Regions from separate parts of the Homo sapiens genome. Here all the other regions are linked to region 2. The links are contacts of gene promoters, found by promoter capture Hi-C in human tissues and cell types (Jung and others, 2019). All regions are on one chromosome and are shown on one strand. The core of a region is centred on a gene start or on the middle of the fragment in contact, and the rest is flanking DNA. Distances in the headings are between cores, read along the strand shown. Region 1 has its middle 7.2 kb from the start of ZNF81. Region 2 holds the start of GRIPAP1 (GRIP1 associated protein 1). Region 3 has its middle 39 kb from the start of LINC01560.

The links. The method cuts DNA at HindIII sites, captures the fragments that hold promoters and counts their contacts. A contact is called where the count stands out against the background at its distance.
Region 1: a contact is called between a fragment that was not itself captured here and the fragment with the promoter of GRIPAP1 in region 2, in 1 of the 25 tissues and cell types used here (aorta).
Region 3: a contact is called between a fragment that was not itself captured here and the fragment with the promoter of GRIPAP1 in region 2, in 1 of the 25 tissues and cell types used here (stomach).

Annotation. Positions count from the first base shown.
Region 1 is chrX:47,828,354-47,831,148 of GRCh38, forward strand. No RefSeq gene overlaps it. Among named protein-coding and RNA genes, the nearest start is that of ZNF81, 7.2 kb to the right of the region's middle. The HindIII fragment of the contact is 4,232 bases long and covers 1-2,795 here.
Region 2 is chrX:49,000,795-49,003,557 of GRCh38, forward strand. GRIPAP1 (GRIP1 associated protein 1) reads right to left here and starts at 1,470. Exons shown (of 26, transcript NM_020137.5): 1 at 1,394-1,470. The coding sequence starts at 1,435. RefSeq lists an enhancer at 1,479-1,588. The HindIII fragment of the contact is 33,502 bases long and covers 1-2,763 here.
Region 3 is chrX:47,442,472-47,445,171 of GRCh38, forward strand. No RefSeq gene overlaps it. Among named protein-coding and RNA genes, the nearest start is that of LINC01560, 39 kb to the right of the region's middle. The HindIII fragment of the contact is 4,206 bases long and covers 1-2,700 here.

The DNA.
Region 1 (2,795 bases), core at 226-2,725, 1.2 Mb before region 2:
CAAGACCTCCACTTAAAAATAAATTAATTAGGCTGGGCATGGTGGTTTACGCCTGTAATCCCAGTACTTTGGGAGGCTGAGGCAGGAGGATCACTTGAGGTTAGGAGTTAATGACCAGCTTGGCCAACATGGTGAAACTCCATCTCTACTAAAAAAATACAAAAATTAGCTGGGCATGGTGGTGGGCACCTGTAATCCCAGCTACTCAGGTGGCTGAGGCAGGAGAATGGCTTGAACCCGGGAGGCAGAGGTTGCAGTGAGCTGAGATCAGGCCACTGCACTACAGCCTGGGTGACAGAGCGAGACTCCATCTCAAAAATAAATAAATAAGGAATTAATTAATTAAACTGTACACCAAAAAGTCAATGTTACTATATGATAATTTAAACATAAAATTTTAAATCGTTTAAAAAAACCTCTCAAATTTCTTAGGGGTGAGAATGGGTTTGTGGCTATGCAAGAAAATGTCCTTGTTCTTAGGAGAGTGGAAATCTACACAGATGATCCAATGAGAAAAAGCAGAGACTTTTCAGAGCTTACTACAGTAAGGTATTGGGCCATTATCACTTGGCGTTTGTCAAAGACTCAAAGGCAGGCAGAAGAATGGGAAAGCTTTATATGTAGTAGAAAAAGGGGAAGGCTTCAGGTGTGTCCTGATTGGAGGGTGTTGGAGTGCACAAGCTGGAGGTGGACTAACTGAAGTGGGGCATCCTATGCGATTGATTTGGGAAGTAGATTTGGCTTTTTCTGGTTGGCCCTGAGTTGGAAATTGGGTTAAAAAAATTGAGAAGCTAGATGTCATCAATCAAATCCTGACCATCTGGGCTGATTGCTACTGAGGTTGTGGTTTGGCTTCCCATGCTTATTGCTGTAGAGGTTGTAGGTCAGGATTCTATTGTTATATATGGTCTGGCCATTGCCTGTTTGTATATTCAGTCCCTCAGGAGATACATGCTGAGTATATATCCTGCTGAGTATAAGGAGCATGATGTCTGCAGCTTACTGTACAAAGGTATTGTAAAACAAACACGGTGGAGTCCTCAGTTTCTCTGTTGCCTTCTACCTTGCACCTTTCATCCTTTTTTGCTATCTCTCCCCTGCCCCCATGAGCTCTGACTAGCAGATAAGCCACAATGTTTGCAAAAGTAATCCTCTAAAAATACTGTCCTGAAGGGTTCTGATTGAGCAAGGGGCACAAAAACAGGAACGACCCTGCCACCAACTACGAGTTTCACTTAAAGTCAAAAACTGCTATCCAGGCCAGGCATGGTAGCTCACAACTATAATCCTAGCACTTTGGGAGGCTGAGGCAGGAGGATCGCTTGAGGACAGGAGTTTGGTATCAGCCTGGGCAACATAGCGAGACCCCGTCTCTCTCTAGTGTGTGTGTGTGTGTGTGTGTGTGTGTGTGTGTGTGTGTGTGTGTGTGTGTGTGTGTGTGTATACACACATACAGCTACCTAAGCCAAAAGCAAGAACACATATTCCACTTTCCCTCATAAAAACCCTGACCCTGCTTCAATCAGGACATCACCTGATGCACCTCAGCTGAATAAAGCCTTTAAGCTCTATAGCAGTCACTTCAATCATTTTCTTTTGACTCTGTTTTTAAATGATGGGGCCTGTATATATGCAAACAGAAATATAAGGCAAATGTGACATAGATGAACAATTGTTACTTCTAGGTGGAAGGTATTTGAATATTCATAGTGCAATTCTTTCAACTTTTGTGTAGGTGTGAAATTTTTCCATTAAAAAGCTGGGTGTAAAATAAATAAGGTATTATTGCTTGCTATCTACTGAAGTATGTAAATGGTTGTGGTTATTGGTCCTGAGGTCCCTGCTCAGCCATTGAACCTGATACTTTTCACAAAGGTTTCTTTGACTTCTGTCAGTGGAAGACTTTGTAAAATGTTTTCCCCTACTAAAGGGAGGCACACAAGACAAGAGTGACCAGGAGACCTTGGCTGTGGATTAATTTTTGCATCTGCTCTAGGACACAGGTGCTCATCATTATGTCCTTAGCTGCAGATATAAAAATACTCGAACTCTGCATTCTTCTTGGTTTTCAACTGGGTACCCACATAGATGTAAAGAATCCCGACTGACCTCTCTATTTAAAGTGGCAGTTCTGGAAATCAGTATATGGAAGAAATACCTGCACTCCTATGTTTGTTGCAGCACTGTTTACAATAGCTAAGATTTGGAACCCACCTAAAGGTCCATCAACAGATGAATGGATAAAGAAAACATTGTACTTATACATAATGGAATACAATTTAGCCATAAAAAGAATGAGACCAGTCATTTGCAACAACATGGATGGAACTGGAGATCATTGTTAAGTGAAATAAGCGAGGCACAGAAAGACAAACATCGCATGTTCTCACTTATTTGTGGGAGCTATAAATCAAAACAATTACGGAGATAGAGAGTAGAAGGATGGTTACCAGAGGCTGGGAAGGATAATGGGGGGCTGGTGGGGAGGTGGGGATGGTTAGCAGGTACAAGAAATATAGTTAGAAAAAATGAATAAGATCTACTATTTGATAGCACGATAGGGTGACTATAGTCAATAATAACTTAATTGTGCATTTTAAAACATAATTTAAAACATAATTTTTTTTGAGATGGAGTCTCACTCTGTCGCCCAGGCTGGAGTGCAGTGGCACGATCTTGGCTCACTACAACCTCCACTTCCCGGGTTCAAGCAATTCTCTGCCTTAGCTTCCCGAGTAGCTGGGATTACAGGAGTCCGCCACCACACCCGGCTAATTTTTGTATTTTTAGTAGAG
Region 2 (2,763 bases), core at 220-2,719:
GGAACTTACTGTTCCTTCCCCTACCAGGACTTTTCCCTCCCTCCCACGCCACCAGCCTCCACTCACTGTTCTCTGGTAGTCTGCTCAAGGTCAGAGGGCTTGGCCTTCACAGAATCTTTCCTACTCCTGTCCTCTCCAGGACCCAGTGATCTGTCTCTCCAAGTACTGGTCCAAGTGGAATATCCTTTGTACCCCCCGAGACTTGCCCCCCAACAAAGCCCAGTAGTTCTCCCTCATTCATGGCCCAGTGGGATCAATGTTCCTCATTCAAGGGTATTCCCACTCCCCTCAAGATCTCCCCAGTCATGATCCATTGGGAATGGCCCTACACCCTTCAGGGTAGGCCTCTACAAGGCCTTGGGTAGGCCAGTTGGATGACTCTTACTCACTTAGAATCCCTTTCAGATGACAGTGGTCTTCCCCATTCATGGGTTAATCAACTCGCCCTTCCATTCTCAGTGTCCCTCACACAGGGACAGCTGGTTTCCCTCATTCAAGGACCAATTGGATTACCTGTCCTCCCTCAGAGTTCCTCCCCTCCCCATGCAGGACCCTGTTCAGACCCCCCCCCCAGTGAGGAACCCTCTCAACAAGGGCCCATTCATAGTGCAATGCTATGGCCTTTCATTGCATCTCAGAGTCCCCCCAAAAGAATCAAGTGGGGGTACCTCCCCAAAGCCCAGTGATCTTCCCTCCTTGTAGTCCAAGGTATCAATCTTTTACCCCTCTGGTCCTCCCCCCAGTTAATGGGATTAATGGTATTACCCATTCATGGCCTTCTTCACCCCAGGCCTAATGGGATCACCCTTAATCATCCAATGGTGCCGCCCCCTCTTAGGATGCACTACCAACCACCAATGGCACAGGATCTCCACCTCCCAGGAACAATGACAACATCTGGGGTCTTTCCCCAATCCCCGGGCACAGTGGTATCTCCCCCAAAACTTACCACCTCCCACCCGCTAATGGTTCTGCCCTCTCAAGGGCTCCCACCACCATGACGCAAACGACCCAACACCCGCTTCCTTCCTCTCCAGACAAAATGGTTTCGCCTTCTCAGGATCTCCTTCCCTCAAAGCCCATTATCATCACCCGCCGACGGTGTCCCCTGCACGGGCCCAAAAGTCTCGTCCCCTCCAGGTCTGAGTAAGGTACCGCCTACTTAATGGCGCTCTCCCAGCCCACAATGCTAACAGAGTCCAACCTTCAAAGCCGCAGAGTATCTCGGAATCCAATAGTCTCACCACTCCGAGCCTCAGTTTCCCTTCTCCAGACCCACCCCATAAACTCAGGGTCCATCCCAACCAACCCCTTCTCAGAGCTGATAGCACGACCTCTCGCTACCCCGCCCCCGGTCGCCTAGCCGGGTGGTCTTTCCCACCGCGAGCGGCACCTGCATCCGCTGAAACTCCTCCTCAGACAGAGCTTGCGCCATGTTCCTCCCCCCACCCCCCCGCCAGCTTTCTGCGCAGACGCAGCTCGCGCCTCCTGGCAGTATTAAGGTCGGACCAAACCACTGGCCAGGAATGGAGGGGGTAGAACCTAATTCCGAAGGGCAGCATTTTGGAGACGCAGAGAAGAGAACGAAACCGACGAGTCAGGTGAACTGTAATACAACGTTCTACCCGAATGTAAGTCATCTGATTGGCTTTTGGACTCTTCTAGGCCACCCATTGTGATACGACATTATTACATCCCCGTTTCATGGGTGGACTCGTCGCTAGGGAAGTCTTTGCCGACAGAAAATCACCCTTCCGCGGTATTCCTTTAATGAGAATGGGTAACTTAATAACCATAGAAATGAAAGCGGAAGCTTCGCTCTGGTCTTGTTCCCGCCCCTCCTCCGGGAGACCCCAAAGGGGAATCCCACCTCTTGTAAAGCCTTTGGCCTTTTTTTTTTTTTTTTTTTTTAAGGTTTGACACTTATTTTGTTATCATGATACTGCATGTCACGTTAGGTAAAGGACTTAGCCACCAATAAAAATAGCAGAGTGGAAAGAGTGACAGTGAATCAAACGAAAAAGCTACATTAAAACAAAACAAAAACAAAAAACAAACCAGGGTGGTGAAACACCAGGCTCATTCAAGTATTAGAATTCACTATAACCCTCACCGATCTGAGAGTAAGAAATGGTATCTCAGTGTAGTTTTTTTCTTATTTTCTTTTTTCTTTCTGTTTTTGTTGTTGTTGTTGTTGTTGTTTTTCTTTTTTGAGACGGAGTTTCACTTTTGTTGCCCAGGCTGGAGTGCAGTGGCACGATATCCGATCACAGCAACCTCCGCTTGGCGAGTTCAAGCGATTCTCCTGCCTCAGCCTCCCGAGTAGCTGGGATTACAGGCGCCCGCCACCTCGTCCGGGTAATTTTTTTTTTTTTTTTTAGTAGAGACGGGGTTTCTCCATATTGGTCAGGCCGGTCTCGAACTCCCGACCTCAGGTAGTCCGCCCGCCTCGGCCTCCCAGAGTGCTGGGATTAAGGCGTGAGCCACCGCGCCCAGCCTTCTTATTTTCGTAGAATTTAATGATTTCCCTGCTGTGGAAAAATATTTCCAGCAGGGCCGGGCGCGGTGGCTCACGCCTGTAATCCCAGCACTTTGGGAGGCCAAGGAGGGCTGTTCACTTGCGGTCAGGAGTTCGAGACTAACCTGGCCAACATGGTGAAACCCCATCTCTACTAAAAACACAAAAATTGGCCGGGTGTGGTGGTGGGCGCCTGTAATCCCAGCTACTCGGAAGGCTGAGGCACGAGAATCGCTTGAACCCGC
Region 3 (2,700 bases), core at 116-2,615, 1.6 Mb before region 2:
GACCATAGTATCATTATAAAATGACCCTTTTGTGTTTAGTAACATTTTCCAACTAAATTTCTATTTTGCCAGAAATCAGTATAGCCACTCCAGCTCATTTATGTTACTCTTTGCATGTTAGATATTTTTCCATCATTTTACTTTCAGCGTATTTGTAACTTTGAATCTAAAGTGTGGCTTTTACAGGTAGCATATGGTTGGATCCTGTCTTCATCCTAATATGACAGTCTCTGCCTTTTGATTGGGGAATTTAGTCCATTTATTTCGAATATAATTATTGATATGGATAGATTTACATCTGCCATTTTGAGATTTGTTTTCCTTAGCTCTCATATCTTTTTGTTCTTTCTCTTTCTCTCTTTTTTTTTTTTTGGTGAACTAGATATTTTATTTTTTTTTATTTTTTATTTTTGAGACAGTGTCTTGCTCTGTAGCACAGGCTAGAGTGCAGTGACACTATCATGGCTTACTGCAGTCTCCAATTCCTGGGCTCAAGCGATCCTTTTGCTTCAGCCTCCTGATTAGCTGGGACCACAGGCATGTACCACCACACGTGGCTATTTAATATATAAAGACACCAAGTCTTTAACTATTAAATGCAACATGTGGACATCCTCAGAGACAGTTTCTAGTGGACTGGTATTTTTTTTTCCCCTGTGTATGGACCAGAATTCTCTGTGTGTGCAGTTTGTTTGTTTTGCATGTCTCATAATTGTTAAAAAGTTGACACTGTAGATAATATATATTTTAGTAATTCTGGATTATGACCCCACCCTCCACAGTTATTATTGTTGCTGTTGTTTTTTGTTTGTTTAGGGACTCATGGGGACTAATTCTGTAGAGTTTTTCATCCCTCAGTGTGCAGTTACTGATGTCTCTGCTTAGTTTTTTTTTTTGAGATGGAGTTTCACTCTTGTTGCCCAGGCTGGAGTGCAGTGGTGCGATTTCAGCTCACTGCAACCTCCACCTCCCAGGTTCAAGCGATTCTCCTGCCTCAGCCTCCCAAGTAGCTAGAATTACAGGCATGCGCTACCACACCTGGCTAATTTTATATTTTTAGTAGAGATGGGGTTTTACCATGTTGGCCAGGCTGGTCTTGAACTCCTGACCTCAGGTGATCCTCCTGCCTCAGCCTCCCAAAGTGCTGGGATTACAGGTGTGAGCCGCCACACCTGGCTGTTTAGTTTTTAAATAATTCTTTCCGTTTTTATGCCTGGCTTCCTTGGGGTCACCTGTGGGTCTGCATAGCTTATTTTTATCCAATGATTGCTTAGAAGTTGTGATTATACACCTCAAACCAGTATGGCTTCCACTAAGGGGATAACTGTGTGAGTTTGAGTACGCATATTAAGTTCGGTCTGCTTGTAAGTCTGTGCTGGCATTCATTTCGGCTTGTATAGGGTCTCACATTCATCTAGGTACCTGATATTTTGTGGTCATGTACACAGCCTTCCACATCCTCATGCATATGCATGGACTTATCAATTCCCACTACTGCTGTCTTATTTTCCATATCCCTTTAATTTTTTGTCTGGTCTGCTGCTCACTCAAACAATGTTGCAGCCTCAGGCAGCTGTGAGGTTGGCCTTCCCCAATTACTTGCTACCAACATTGCTGTTGTTTTTGACAATACCCCTAGGCATGGAGCTTTTCTCTGGAGCTCAGAGTCAGGTCAGCTCCCTCCATTTACAGTGAGGCTTCCATTCCTCATGGCTACCATGCCCACAGAGCTGTGGATGGGAGCAGCTCCAAGTCTAAATGCCATAGACCCCACTATTCTTATCAAGGTTTGGTAGTTTTTGACCATTTAAAAAAAGCTTTTGGGGGAGGGGTTTTGATGAGCTCCTCACCCTACCATTCCAGAAGCTCCACCTCTGGACAAGTGATGGTTTTTCTTTTTTAAGAGACTGGGTCTCACTCTGTTACCCAGGCTGGAGTGCAGTGGTGTGGATCATAGCTCCCTGCAGCCTCTAGCTCCTGGGCTCAAGCAATCCTCCCACCCCAGCCTTCTGAGTAACTGGGACTATAGGCATGCACCACTACCCCTGGGTAATTTAAAAAGAATTTTTTTAGAGACAGGATCTTGCCATGTTGCCCAAGCTGGTCTTGAACTCCTGGCCTCAAGTGATCCCCCCATGTCAGCCTTGCAAAACACTGGGATTACAGGGCATGAGCCACCATGTCTGGCCTGGACAAGTGACTTTTGACAAAAGTCAAAATATTGAGAAAGGGTAGTATTTTTAAACAAATGGTGTGGAAACATTTGAATATCCATAAGCAAAAACAAAACAAAACAAAACAAAAACATAAAAGAACTTGGATCCATATTTCACACCATATAACTCAAAATACATGCTAGATCTAGATGTAAAACTTAAACCTTTAGAAGAAAACACAGGAAAAAATCATTGTAATCTTTGGTTAGGCAAGGATTTCTTAGATACAGCACTCAAAGCACAACCCAGAAATGAACAAATGGAAAGAACGGACTTCATCAAAATAAGCAGTTCTGTTCTTCAAAAGACACTCTTAAGAGAATGAAAAGACAATCCAGAGACTGGGAGAAAACCTTTGCAAGGATAATGGACTGATAGTGAAGTTACACCCAGAATATATTTTTAAAAACTATCAGTGCTCAACAATAAAAAAACCCAAATAACCCAACTGATAATGGGCAAAAGATTTAAACAGACACTTCAT